Regions from separate parts of the Homo sapiens genome. Here regions 2 and 3 are each linked to region 1. The links are contacts of gene promoters, found by promoter capture Hi-C in human tissues and cell types (Jung and others, 2019). All regions are on one chromosome and are shown on one strand. Each heading gives the region's core, a stretch centred on a gene start or on the middle of the fragment in contact. The rest is flanking DNA. Distances are from core to core; before and after follow the strand shown. Region 1 holds the start of CXADR (CXADR cell adhesion molecule). Region 2 overlaps USP25 (ubiquitin specific peptidase 25). Region 3 overlaps MIR99AHG (mir-99a-let-7c cluster host gene).

Region 1 (4,792 bases), core at 1,665-4,164:
ACCACAAAACTGTTTCAGAGCTGGAGGAATATCTATCACTGACGGTATAATCTGAATGAGTCTTTCCCTTGTTTTGCTAAAGTAGGAGTCAATCATGTTAACAGTGAACTTGAGTTAATAACAATGCCTTTTTTTTTGTTTATTTGTTTCAGAGACGGAGTCTAGCTCTGTCGCCCAGGCTGGAATGCAGTGGCGCGATGTGGGCTCACTGCAAGCTACGCCTCCCGGGTTCACGCCATTCTCCTGCCTCAGCCTCAGCTGGTACTACAGGCGCCTGCCACCAGGCTCGGCTAATTTTTTTGTATTTTTAGTAGGGACGGGGTTTCACCGTGTTAGCCAGGATGGTCTCGATCTCCTAACCTCATGATCTGCCCGCCTCGGCCTCCCAAAGTGCTGGGATTACAGGCGTGAGCCACCGCGCCCGGCCCATACCAATGCATTTCTAAATGGTCAGAAATATCTGAAGAAATAAAGCCATTCATCAATTAGTATGTCTTCTTTTTTTTTTTGAGACAGAGTCTCACTCTGTCGCCCAGGCTCGAGAGCAGCGTCATGATCTTAGACCTCATGAGCTTAGACCTCCCAGGCTCCGGCAAACCTCCCATCTCAGCCTCCCGCGTAGCTGGGACTATGACAAGCATCACTGCACCTAGCTAGTTCTTTTTGGGTTTTATTTTGTTGTATTTTTTGTAGAAATGCGGTCTCGCCATGTTGCCCAGGCTGGTCTCAAACTCCTACACTCAAATGACCCTCCCGTCTCAACCTCCCAAATTGCTGGGATTACAAGCACCGTGCCTGGCCTCAGCTGTTCTTAAACTGAAAAACTGGAATAAAGATAGTTGCCTTGTTTAGCTGAGACACTGGCCCTTCGAGTAGATGTTCACTGTACCCGTGTATACCTTATGAGCACAATGACTCTCTGCATCAAAATATTATTTCTTAGAATTGTGCCTATCAAAGTGAGGCATTCCAAAAAAAAAAAATTAAATCCAATTATCTAAATATTCCCGTTAAAACAACAACAACTAGTTCCTGCCAGGCATGGTGGCTCACGCTTGTAATCCCAGGACTCTGGGAGGCTGAGGGAGGCGGATCACCTGAGGTCGGGAGTTTGAGACCAGCCTGACCAACATGGTTTCTACTAAAAATAAAAAAGTTAGCCGGGCATGGTGGGGGGTGCCTGTAATCCCAGCTACTCAGGAGGCTGAGGCAGGAGAATCGCTTAAACGCGGGGGGCGGAGGTTGTGGTGAGCCAAGATCACGCCATTGCACTCCAGCCTGTGCAACAAGAGCGAAACTCCATTTAAAAAAAAAAAAAAGTTCCTCCACATAATTTATGTTCTTCCACTTTTCTGCTTTAGATGTGGTCTAAAACTATTTTTTTTTTTTTTCCCAGAGAACACACTGTGTTCTCAACTTCATCTTCAGGTTCGGCCTAGACAAAAAAAAGAAAAAAAAGAAAGAAAGGTGGGAATGTACCTGTAAACTGGTTCTATGACCCTTCATCTTCTCCGGAAGGCTTACTTTGGACATTTCAGCCCGCCAAGTCTAAATGATATATATCAAAAAGGTGGAGGTAGTGCTATAGGCTCAGATCGAAGATTAGACTTGCTAATAGAATGTTGATCCCATGAGTAATGCTCACAGCTGTGGCATCCAACAATGGAATTAACATTTCAACAGGAAGCAGAGAGCCATCCCAACAGAAAGGGCCACTAGATCCTGCTTCAGAGCACCTAACAACAAAAAATTACCCTTCCAGAGGCTATACTAAGTGCGCCTCCTAGGATCCCACCTACGGATTTTTAAAAATGAATTATTTGGTTATAAAACGCAGCAAGTGCTTAGTTTGACAAACAAGATCAGTTGGTTAAAACACCGACATGGAAAATCCGTTTTTTAAAGTGTCAAAATGATTACGCCTCCTAATGGTCCACGCATTTTTCACATGCCTTTTTTCCCCTCCCAGAGAAAGGAGCAGTCGACAAACGCACTTGGCAAATCCTCTAGCAATTACCCTGTACAACTCAGCCCGTCTTATCTCCAAAATGAACGACTCATTACAAACTCAAAAACGAGGTCACTGAATTCTCCTTTGCACTTCGCCCAAGGACTGCAGAAACCAATGCTACATTTTTGCAGGAACCCACTTTTGATTTTCCACGGTCTCCTTCACAATGCGCGTCTGGTTAGCAGCTCCTGCCTGGGCGAGCTGCTTCCAGGAGACTAACACCGTCCAGGCTGGCGTTCGCTCAGCGCCTCTTTCCTAGAGGTAGCCTGGCCGATCCGAGGCACCGGGCAGCTCCATGTCCATTGAATAATGGCGTTTGCAATTCAGCCTCCCCGCCTGGGCGACTCGACACCTGAAAACTCGCCGCCCAAGGTTTTTGAAATCGGGTAACGCTGGAGAGAACCGACACGAAGGCTGACAAGGGAGACGGCGAGAGCAAAGAAAGGCAAGCCCGCACCGGGGCAGAGAATGCTATGGGAGAGCTGCGAGGCGCACCCGACACGCCGCGCCCGAGCCCCTCCGCCTCCACCCCCCGCCGAGGGCTCCGTCCCCGGGCACTCCGCGCGCCCTGCGCGGCTCCCTACGGGACGGCTCCAGGAGCGCCCGGCCCAGCAAAAGCGCCCCTGTGCAATTCTGCCCGCCCCGCCGCCCCTGCAGCAGCGCCCCCAAATCGCGCCCGCCCCCTCCCCCACGCCCCATTGTTCCTGGGTGGCCGCGGGCAGCGAGCGCCCCCGGGCTGGGCGGGTGCTGAGGACCCCATGGCCCCTACTCACCCACTACTCCGCACAGGAGCACGAAGCACAGCAGGAGCGCCATGGTGGCTGCCGTGCCGTGGGCGGCGGCTGCAGGTAGGCGGCTCTCGCTCCTGGTCCCAGGCTCCCCGCGCCTCGCGCGCTCCCGACTGGCTCGCGGCGGCGGCGGCACCTCTGCACCCTCCGCCCCTCCTCCCAGCCCCCGCTCGGCAGGTGAACTCGCGTCACTTCCGGCAGCGGCCCGGGCCGGGCTGCGAGCGCCGGCTTCTCCAGCCGCGTGGGGTTGCCTTGGCAACCGGGCGAGGCGCTCTTCTGTCCCCGGGACCCTCCCGGCGCCGAACTCTCAGCCTCCCGGCGCGCGGCGTCGTAGGTCGCGGGCGGCCGCCTCCCACGCCGCAAGCCTGCGCAGGGGTCCCCGCCTCCATCCCTTAAGCTAAACCAGGGTTTTGCGCGCGGGGGTGGGGCAGCCCGTCTCCCACATACTGAAATTGCGTTGGCGCCCTCCTTTAAGGCGAGGCACGGGACACTCCCAGGGGCCGCCACTAGGGCGGCTCCTACCCTCCGCCCCGCCTGCACCCACCCGTCCCACCCCTCGCGGTTTGCCCCAGGGGCAGGTTCTCTGACCTCATGCTCACGGGATGCGACCTGTGCAGCCCCTGGCCTTCGCTCTCTTAACGAGCCGCTCTGGCTGACATAAAAAGCGCGAGAGGGCTTTTCTCCATCTCTGGTAGGGATAGAGCCCCTCTGCAGCTACCGATTTGGGAAATACCTGAGGTTTTTTCCACTTGCACAGAAAGGCTATTCTAGCCCTGAAGCTGGCTAGTAAGACGCTATAGTCCCAGCTACTCCGGAGGCTGAGGTAGGCAGACAACTATTATCCAATATTAGTGAGTGAGCTTTGAAAGTGGGGCTCAGTAGTTGTGGTTGAAGGCGTCAGTTGGAGTGTGGGGTCGGGGAATTGGAGATCTTGAAAGTTGTTGTCGGCTGCTCTTCCAGATAACGTTTATTTATAACTACATAGAGACTTTGTAGTGCCGCGACAGTTCCATAACAGAAATGAATTGAAGAAGAGGAGCGGTGGGTAAGAGCTTATTCCGCGGAGTGGGGCAGTAACTGGGCAGGTTTCATAGAAATGGCACCTACTTCGGGGTTGCTATGAAAGTTAAATGAGATAATGCACAAAAAATGCTTGGCACCCTGCCTGGCACGTAGTTTTAATTAGCTTCCACTTACTGAGTTCTTGCTTACAGGGTTCCTGCTTATGTAGTCTATAAGCTTACATAGTTTGTAAGTTCCTGCTTACTATCTAGACTAAGCAGGAACCCCCGTAAGCAGAATTCAGTAAGTGGAAGCTAATAAAACTAATATTGGAAAATTCTTATTATGCATTGAACCAGAAAAGAGAAGGGGCAAAGAAATCAGGTATCAAGAAGACCAGAATTGCGCAACTGCAGTTTAGCCTGGTGAGTTGCAATTCTGGCTGCACATGAAAATTACTTGGAGAATGTTTTAAAAATACTAGTGCCTGGCTGGGCGCGGTGACTCACGCCTGTAATCCCAGCACTTTGGGGGCCCAGGCGGGCGGATCATGAGGTCAGGAGATCGAGACCATCCTGGCTAACACGGTGAAACCCTGTCTCTACTAAAAATACAAAAAATTAGCCAGGCGTGGTTGCAGGCGCCTGTAGTCCCAGCGACTCGGGAGGCTGAGGCAGGAGAATGGCGTGAACCCCGGGAGGGGGAGCTTGCAGTGAGCCGAGATTGCGCCACTGCACTCCAGCCTGGGCGACACAGCGAGACTCCGTCTCAAAAAAAAAAAAAATATATCTATCTATCTATCTATCTATATATGTATATATATACTAGTACCTGAGCCTTACTCAAGTGATTCCAATTTAATTTGATTTAAGGGGAATCCTGCTTTACGGCAGCCCAATAAATGACAGATGACCAGTGGTAGTAAGAGGAAGTGGCTTTGCAAAATCATACCATCTGATTGTAAAGTTCTGCCAAAGCTTTTACAAACTAA
Region 2 (4,792 bases), core at 1,214-3,713, 1.8 Mb after region 1:
ATGAAAGTACATAAAGAGAATAAAAAGACATCGTGAAAACAGAAAATATTTGCAAAACATATACAGTAGTTTCCCCTTATCTCGTTTCACTTTTTGAAGTTTCAGTTACCAATGATCAAGCGTAGTCCAAAAATATGAAAAGTTCCAGAAACGATGTTTTAAATTGTGCACTATTCTGACTGAGTGCTGTGCATAATGAAATCTCACTCCATGCCACCCACAACATGAATCTTCCCTTTGTCCAACATATCCACACTGTGTATACTACCCACTTAGTAGTCAGCAGCCATCTCAGTTATCGGATATTTTGAAAAAGACTACATTCACACAACATTATATTATCATAGTTGTTCTATTTCATTACTAGTTATTGTTGTTAGTCTCTACTAATTTATAAATTACCTAATTTATAAATTAAACTTTATCACAGGTAGATACTATATATAGGAAAAAAACTATATGTACTATATAGTTATATAGTGCCTAATTTATAAATTAAACTTTATCACAGGTATATATAGATAAGAAAAAACTATATATACTATATTCTATATAGTACTGAACCATACTATATATGGTATACTATTTCAAATATTTTGAAAACATATACAGTATGTTATGTGAATGTAGTCTCTTTCAAAATATACTCTATAAATGGTTCAATACTAGCCACAGTTTCAGGCATCCACTGGGGGTCTTGGAACACATTCCATGAGAGTAAACGTGGACTATTGTAAATAGAAAAACAAAAGTAGTATCTAAACCATAAAGAACTACCTCAAATCATAAAGAAAAAGATAAATAGCCCAAAAGAAAAAACAGGCAAGAGAAACAAATGTCAATTTCACAGAAAAGAATCACAGTGGACCATAAATATATAAAAAGATATATAAACAAATAGTTTAACTGTAGAATGGTTAAGCTGTAGTATATCTAGAAGTATAAATTAACAATAACACATTTTTAACAAAATAAGAAGTGCAACAACTAAAACCATACTTAGTAGTAAAAGACTGCTTTCCATACAAAATCGGGAACAAGACAAAGATGTCTGTCATTACCACTTCTATTAAACATTTTAGAGAATACCCCAAAAAGCACAATTTTTAAAATGAATAAAAGTGGTAAATACATTTATTAGAATAAGTGAATTTCGCAAAGTCGCAGATACAAGCTTCATACAGAAAAATCAACCACATTCTATATACCAGCAAAAAACAATTGGAATAAAAACTAAAAACCACTGGCAGGGTGCAGTGGCTCACAACTGTAATCCCAGCACTTTGGGAGGCCGAGGCTGGTGGATCATGCTGTCCAGAGATCAAGACTATCCTGGCTATAACACAGTGAAACTCCATCTCTACTAAAAATACAAAAAATTAGCCGGGTGTGGTGGCACACACCTGTAGTCCCAGCTACTAGGGAGGCTGAGGCAGGAGAATCGCTTGAACCTGGGAGGCGGCGGTTGCAGTGAAAGTGAGACTGCGTCTCAAAAAAAATAAAAATAAAAATAAAAAATACCACTTACAATAGCATCAAAAAAGTCAACTGTAACAAAAGATATGCAAAGACCTTTAAACCGTTAAAAAACAAAACCTAAATAAATGGAGAAATATATGTGTTCTTGGATTGAAAGGCTAAAATACTGTAAAGATGTCCAAACAGTCAGAAAGAATCCATACATCCAACACAATCCTACTCAGAAACCCCAGAAGGCTCTTTGTCCAACTGTTCAAAGTACCTCAGAATTGTATATGGAAATACAAAAAATTCTAGAATAGCCAAAACAAATTTCTAACAAGAACAAAGTTGAAGAATTTACATTCACCCACTTCAAGGCACATTTCAAAGCCACAGTAATCAAGAAAGAACGGCACCACATAAGGATAGAAAGGAACTGAGTTCAAAAATAAACCCACTCATACATGATCAATTAATTTTCCATAAAGGTACCAATATAATTCAATGATGAAAGGACAGCTTTTTCAAAAGTAGGTGCTGGGACTAGATTCCACATGCAATAAATGAACCTTGACTTAGTGACACCTCAGAACACACACAGAAATGAATTCCAAATGGATCGTAAACCTAAAATGGCAAAACTTCTAGAACAAAACACAGGGAGAAAAAATTTACAAACTAAGTTTCAAGAAAATGGTTAAAGCAGCCGGGCGTGGTGGCTCACGCCTGTAATCCCAGCACTTTGGGAGACCGAGGCGGGCGGATCACCTGAGGTCGCGAGTTCGAGACCAGGCTGGCCAACATGGTGAAACCCTGTCTCTACTAAAAATACAAAAATTAGCTGAGCGTGGTGGTGCATGCCTGTAATCCCAGCTACTCAGGAGGCTGAGGCAGAAGAATCGCTTGAACCCAGGGAGGCGGAGGCTGCAGTGAGTGAGATCATGCCATTGCACTCCAGCCTGGGCAATAAGAGTGAAATTCCGTCACAAAAAAAAAAAAAAAAAAAGAAAAGAAAAAGAAAAAGAAAATGGTTAAAGTACTAACCATAAAAGTAAATTAAACAATCAATATTAAAATACTTCAACTTCAAAGAAACTGTTAAGAAAATGCAAATACAAGCCACACATTGGGAGAAAGTATTTGTAATTACATATACATGATAAAAGACAACCAAAATATAAAGAATTCCTACAACTCAACAGCAAGAAGATAACCCAACTAAGAAATTGGGAAATAATCTTAACATGTTAAAAAGAAGACATAAAAATGGTCAATAAGGAAAAGACAGAGGCCCTGGGTTATCAGTAGCTCTCCTGCAACATCCCCTGCCTGCCTCCCACACCTCCCTCCCCCCGACCATAAAAGATGCCCCTGCTTAGAAGCTTAAGGCAGAACAACATCAGCACTCAGGAAAAGAAGGAGTGGGAAGGGAGGGGAAGGGAGGGGAAGTGGCGGGGATGGAGGCCGTGGCCCTAAAGTGGTCAGTCAGCCCTCTTGCTTTAGACAGCAAACCGAGAGAATTCTACACACTCTTCTGCTCATGCAAGAAATGCTTGGAAGAGCATTTACTTTCATTCAAAAGCGGCAGACCCGGCGGGGTGCGGTGGCTCACGCCTGTAATCCCAGCACTTTGGGAGGCTGAGGCAGGTGGATCACCTGAGGTCAGGAGTTCAAGACTCGCCTGGACAACATGGAAAACCCCATCTCTAGTAAAAATACAAAAATTAGACGGGTGTGGTGGCAGGCACCTGTAGTCCCAGCTACTCAGGAGGTTGGGGCAGGAGAATCGCTTGAACCTGGGAGGTGGGGGCTGCCGTGAGCTGAGATCACACCACTGCACTCCAGCCTGGGCAACAAGAACGAAGCTCTGCCCCAAAACAACAACAACAACAAAACTGCAGACCCTAGGAGGCCGAGACAGGAAGATCACTTGAGGTCAGGAGTTCAAGACCAGCCTGGCCAACATGGCAAAACCCCGTCATAAAAATTAGCCAGGCCTGGTGGCGTGTACCTGTAGTCCCAGCTATGTGGGATGCTGAGGCATGACAATCACTTGAACCCAGGAGGCAGAGGTTGCAGTGAGCCAGATTGCACCACTGCACTCCAGCCTGGGTGACACGGTGAGACCTTTGTCTCAAAAATAACAACAACAACAAAAAAACGCAGACCCTAAGGTTTGCCTAAGCCAACACCAAGATGGACAAAAATAAAGTAATGGCAAACCCCACCAATGTTCACACAGCCCTAGGACCACACCTCCTAGCACAGGACCCCATGACCTGAGGGAGTGGCTCTGATCTCTGTAACCCCAAAGGCCTGAAACCCCTACCCACTTTACACCATAGAAACCACAGAGCTGACCAGGGTCATCTTATATGCTGCTTTCAGCTACTCTGCTACAGTTCGACATGCTCAGGTACACTGGTGCTCTCCTCCTGGCGCCACCCAGCAAGAATGGAAACACTGTCAGTTCTGTAAGTTCCACTGTTCTAAGTGACTTCAATTCCTGCCTCACTTGGGAAGAAGCCTAGAAGCCAGTTCTGCAAATCTGCATGATGCTACCAAAATTGGTAAAGAGAGTGTCCACTGACCCCAGGAGGCCTGCGCAGAGCTGTTTCTGATAGCCACAGTAGACAAATTCCCAGGCAGGCAGGGACAGTAGACAAATTCCTAGGCAGGCGCCACAGTAGACCAATTCCTAGGCAGGCGCCACAGTAGACCAACTCCTAGGCAGGCAGGGACAGGTCCCTGGTGAAACCTGACCTTCAAACCAAAGACAGTTTAAAGCCTACCAAGCTGCCTGTTCTAGATATAGATAGAGTCCACAGCTGGAGTGAAAACTTTTCTTTTTGCCTACTCTTTCCCAATTGGTTCTTTCCGAATAATGCTTTTAAACCAATTGAATGTTGCCTTTTCCAAGGCTACCTCCAGCCCACATCTCCTCATTCCAAACCTAAAAAAACCCTGGACTCAACTGCAAAGATGGCTACCAGCTTTTGGGGCCCCCTCACACAGAGGGCTATCCACTTCACGTCCCCTCTCATTGTCAAGAGCTTTTCTGTTGCTCAATAACATTCTTCTCTGCCTTCCTCACTCTCTGGTGTCCACGTACCTCATTATTCTTGGTCACTGGACAAAAACCCAGAACTCGCCAAACGGTGGGAACAAAGAACGGCTGTAACACGCACCTGGCTGGCTCCTGGAGCTGTGGGCAGTGGGCATGAAAAGAGCTGTTACACACTCCCAATTGCTGGAATATGGGAGTGATGAGCCGCGACCCCTCTGGGGGCCCAAACATCAGGACCCCTCGAACTAGAACCATAATACACCC
Region 3 (4,792 bases), core at 1,716-4,215, 1.1 Mb after region 1:
TTCATTACACACAACCAAAGTACAGGACTGTGCAGTCGGAATTCTTACACAAGAGCTGGGACCGTGCCCTATAGCCTTTCTATCCAAACAACTCAACTTCACAATTCTGGGCTGGCCCTCATGTTTGTGCCATTTAAATACTTCTAGAGGCCATCAAAAATCACAGGCTATGCTCCACTTACCCTTTACAGCTCTCACAACCTTCAAGCATTAATATCCTCCTCATACCTTTCACATTTATTGTCTGCCCCCCAACTCCTCCAGCTCTATTCACTCTTTGTTGAAACTCCAATAGTAACTATTACCCATGGGCCTGATTTCAACCCAGCTTCTCATTTAGCACCCAACACAAGTCCTGAACCACATGACTGTATTTCCCTAACACACATAGGATCTTCTCCCTTTCCTCATATTTCTAATCTTCCCATTCCAAACCCGGACCACACTTGGTTTATTGATGGCGGTTCTTCTAAACCCAATCAATTTTCACCAGCTAAAGCTGGATATGCTGTCATGTCCCACACCTCTATTATTGAAGCTGCTGCACTTCCTCCCTCCACCACTTCCCAACAAGCCAAACTGATTGCTTTAACTCGTGTGCTCTCTCTAGCTAAAGGAATGCACATTAACATTTATACTGACTCCATATATGCTTTCCACATCCTCCATAACCATGCTGCCATCTGGGTCAAAAGAGGCTTCCTTACCACACAAAGCTCTTCCACTAATAATGCCTCCCTAATAGAGGCCCTTAAGGTTGTTCTCCTGCCAGCCAAGGCTGGAATCATTCATTGTAAAGGACACCAGAAACCTACTGATCTTATTGCAAAAAAAAAATAACCAATGCCTCCACACCCGCTAATATTCCAGCCCCCACTCCGGAGGGCCAGTATTTTTTTTTCTCCTCTATCACTCCCACCTACTCTTCTTCTGAAAACCTGCTCTACCAGTCTTTTCCAACTCAGGGCAAGTGGTTCTTAGATCATGGAAAACTCATCCTTCCTGCCTCACAAGCTCAGTCCATTCTTTCGTCTTTTCATAACCTCTTCCATGTAAGTTACAAGCCACTAGCCCGCCTCTTAGAACCTCTCATTTCCTTTAAGACATTTGCCCTGCATTTCACTCCATCCTTAGCTACCTTCCCCTTGTTCTTTGGACTCTCCTCTTAGCCCCTCCTCTTGCTTGCTTATACCCAGCCCCATGAATAGCAGTGAACGGTTACTCGTAGACACTTTGTACTTTCTCATACACCATAAAAATCAAACCTCCCCTTCTACCCAGTTGCTCCATCAATCCCCATTACAACCTCTAACGGCTGCTGCCCTTACTAAATCCCTAAGAGTCTGGGTGCAAGACACCTGTTTTGGTGCTCCCTCTTGTCTTTTCACTTTACATTTCCAGTTTTGCCTTACAAAGTTCTCTTCTTGGACATGAACAGACACTTCTCAAACGAAGACATTTATGCAGCCAAAAAACACATGAAGAAATGCTCACCATCACTGGCCATCAGAGAAATGCAAATCAAAACCACAATGAGATACCATCTCACACCAGTTAGAATGGCAATCATTAAAAAGTCGGGAAACAACAGGTGCTGGAGAGGTTGTGGAGAAATAGGAACACTTTTACACTGTTGGTGGGACTGTAAACTAGTTCAACCATTGTGGAAGTCAGTGTGGCGATTCCTCAGGGATCTAGAACTAGGAATACCATTTGACCCAGCCATCCCATTACTGGGTATATACCCAAAGGACTATAAATCATGCTGCTATAAAGTCACGTGCACACGTATGTTTATTGCACTATTCACAATAGCAAAGACTTGGAACCAATCCAAACGACCAACAATGATAGACTGGATTAAGAAAACGTGGCACATATACACCATGGAATACTATGCAGCCATAAAAAATGAGAAGTTCGTGTCCTTTATAGGGACATGGATGAAATTGGAAATCATCATTCTCAGTAAACTATCGCAAGGACAAAAATCCAAACACCGCATGTTCTCACTCATAGGTGAGATTTGAACAATGAGAACCCATGGACACAGGAAGGGGAACGTCACACTCTGGTGACTGTTGTGGGGTGGGGGGAAGGGGGAGGGATAGCATTAGGAGATATACCTAAAGCTAAATGACGAGTTAATGGGTGCAGCACAGCAGCATGGCACACGTATACATATGTAACTAACCTGCACATTGTGCACATGTACCCTAAAACTTAAAGTATAATAATAATAATAATAATAATAATAAAAAAGATGTCTTCCTCCTCTGTGGCTCCTTCACCTACATGTGTCTACCTATTAATTAGACAGGCACATGTACACTAGTTAGCCTTACCCCCAAAATCAATTTGCAAATAGGACCGAACAGCTTCCTGTTCCCCTCATGACACTAACACTTTACTTCTATTTTGTTTTTTTATTATTATTATTAATATAAGAAAACAGGAACAGGCCTTGACTTACTCACTGCTGAAAAAGGAAGACTCTGTGTATTTTTAAATGAAGAGTGTTGTTTTTACCTAAATCAGTCTGGCCTGGTATATGACAACATAAAAAAATGCAAGGATAGAGCCCAAAAACTCATCAAACAAGCAAATAATTAGGCTGAACCCCCTTGGGCACTCTCTAGTTGAATGTCCTGGGTCCTCCCAATTCTTAGTCCTTTGATACCTGTTTTTCTCTTTCTCTTACTTGGCCCTTGTGTCTTCCAATTAATCTCTCAATTCCTACAAAACTGCATCCAGACTATCACTAATCACTCTATATGACAAATGCTGCTTCTAACAACCCCACAATATCACCCCTTACCCCAAAATCTTTCTTCAGTTTAATCACTCCCACTCTAGGTTCCCACACTGCCCCTAATCCTGCTCAAAGCAGCCCTGAGAAACATCGCCCATTATCTCTCCATACCACCCGCAAAAATTTTTGCCACCCCAACACTTCACCACCATTTTGTTTTGTTTTTCTTATTAACAGAAGAAGACAGGAATGTCAGGCCTCTGAGCTCAAGCTAAGCCATCATATCCCCTGTGACCTGCATGTATACATCCAGATGGCCTGAAGCAACTGAAGATCCACAAAAGAAGTGCAAATAGCCAGGTCCTGCCTTAGCTGACGACATTCCACCATTGTGACCTGTTCCTGCCGCACCCTAACTGATCAATTGACCTTATGACAATACACCCTCCCCGCCCTTGCGATAATGTACTTTGAGATATTCCCCTACCCTTGAGAAGGTACTTTGTGATATTTCCCCACCCTTGAGAAGGTACTTTGTGATATTCTCCCACCCTTGAGAAGTTACTTTGTGATATTCCCCCACCCTTGAGAAGGTACTTTGTGATATTCCCCCACCCTTGAAAAGGTACTTTGTAATACTCTCCCTGCCCTTGAGAATGTACTTTGTGAGATCTACCCCCTGCTCCTAACTCCACCGCCTATCCCAAACCTATAAGAACTAACGATAATCCCACCACACTTTGCTCACTCTCTTTTCAGACTCAGCCCACCTGCACCCAGGTGATTAAAAAGCTTTATTGCTCACACAAAGCCTGTTTGGTGGTCTCTTCACATGGACGTGCGTGACATTAATCACATAAGCAACCTTAATTTTCCCTAATTAAAAATTAGAGTAAAATCACCTGCCATGAGTGATAGCCAAGTATCTTTTACACCAAGTTTATCAAAATAAGCTTTTAGGAGTGGAACAATTTTGATCAACTGTGTTAATATTTCAGAACTGCTTGCAACAGTGACTACCATAAGTATGCATTTTTCTATGCATGCAACTTACAAGTGATAACTGCCCAATGGAGCACTAGAAATGTGGTCACATTGATCTTTTTTGCAAGTCACTTACCATATTGTGTATTCCATTCTCTTCTTGTTCAAATCTTGACATTGAGAATTCTCTTCATCTCAGAAAGAGCTCCTGAAAAGTATTTTTAGATTATAAAAGATTGCATTTATGCATACACATACATTTCCCCTAAATAATGATCCATATCTTTTAGATATTTGCAATATTTATTAAGAGTTACAGGTCCAGAAACAATCAGCAACTTAGTAGATTATCTCTAAGCACACTTGATTTTTACTGAATGCTGTCGAGGCATCAAAATGTACATATTCACCTTTAAAAAGTGTTAACTTTGCATTTATTGTTTCATCCGCAGGGCTAACAGCTGGGTATTACTGTTGTTTTTGTTGTTGTTGTTTTAAGCGACTATCTGAGGTGTTAAGAGGTCCTAATTAAGTAAATTTAACAAACACAGCATTAAGTTTCAAAATCGAAGTGTTAGAACAGATACCTGTTTGATCTGCAGGTAACTAATGAGAGCAACAGTACATCACAAACACCTTTGATGTTATTCCTGCCTCAGCATATTTGGTTTGATAAAAAATATCTCACTCAAGTAACTGCCCAACATATTGCCCTGAGAGACCGAGAGAGAATTAACGATTTAATTCTAGTTTTTCCTGCCCTTGTTTTGCAAATAAATGAAGACATGGATGGATGGGTTTTTTGAAACACCAATGATCTGTGTTACAGTGTAGCATTATCATTCCTGGGAGGAGCATGCCGTTTACAGGGCTGAATCACAAAACACAACACAACAACAACAAAGCAGGGATGAGTTATTTCAGGCCAATTCACAAATCATTATAGAAATAAGGTAATGAGCGGCCGGGTGTGGTGGCTCATGCCTGTAATCCCAGCACTTTGGGAGGCTGAGGCGGCCGGATCACGAGGTCAGGAGATCGAGACCATCCTGGCTA

Evidence for each region. Contacts are between HindIII fragments. The study calls those that stand out against the background at their distance.
Region 2: a fragment that was not itself captured here is called in contact with the fragment with the promoter of CXADR in region 1 in 1 of the 25 tissues and cell types used here (dorsolateral prefrontal cortex).
Region 3: a contact is called between a fragment that was not itself captured here and the fragment with the promoter of CXADR in region 1, in 1 of the 25 tissues and cell types used here (lymphoblastoid cells).

The regions. Positions count from the first base shown.
Region 1 is chr21:17,511,165-17,515,956 of GRCh38, reverse strand. It overlaps CXADR (CXADR cell adhesion molecule), which reads right to left and starts at 2,914. Exons shown (of 7, transcript NM_001338.5): 1 at 2,785-2,914. The coding sequence starts at 2,827. RefSeq lists silencers at 2,744-3,283, 3,344-3,463. The HindIII fragment of the contact is 6,448 bases long and covers 1-4,408 here.
Region 2 is chr21:15,743,149-15,747,940 of GRCh38, reverse strand. All of the region lies in intron 1 of USP25 (ubiquitin specific peptidase 25), which reads right to left. It also overlaps the pseudogene RBPMSLP. Among named protein-coding and RNA genes, the nearest start is that of USP25, 16 kb to the right of the region's middle. The HindIII fragment of the contact is 4,683 bases long and covers 122-4,792 here.
Region 3 is chr21:16,390,766-16,395,557 of GRCh38, reverse strand. It overlaps MIR99AHG (mir-99a-let-7c cluster host gene), which reads right to left. Exons shown (of 10, transcript NR_136541.1): 5 at 3,873-3,944. Among named protein-coding and RNA genes, the nearest start is that of SNORD74B, 110 kb to the right of the region's middle. The HindIII fragment of the contact is 4,617 bases long and covers 657-4,792 here.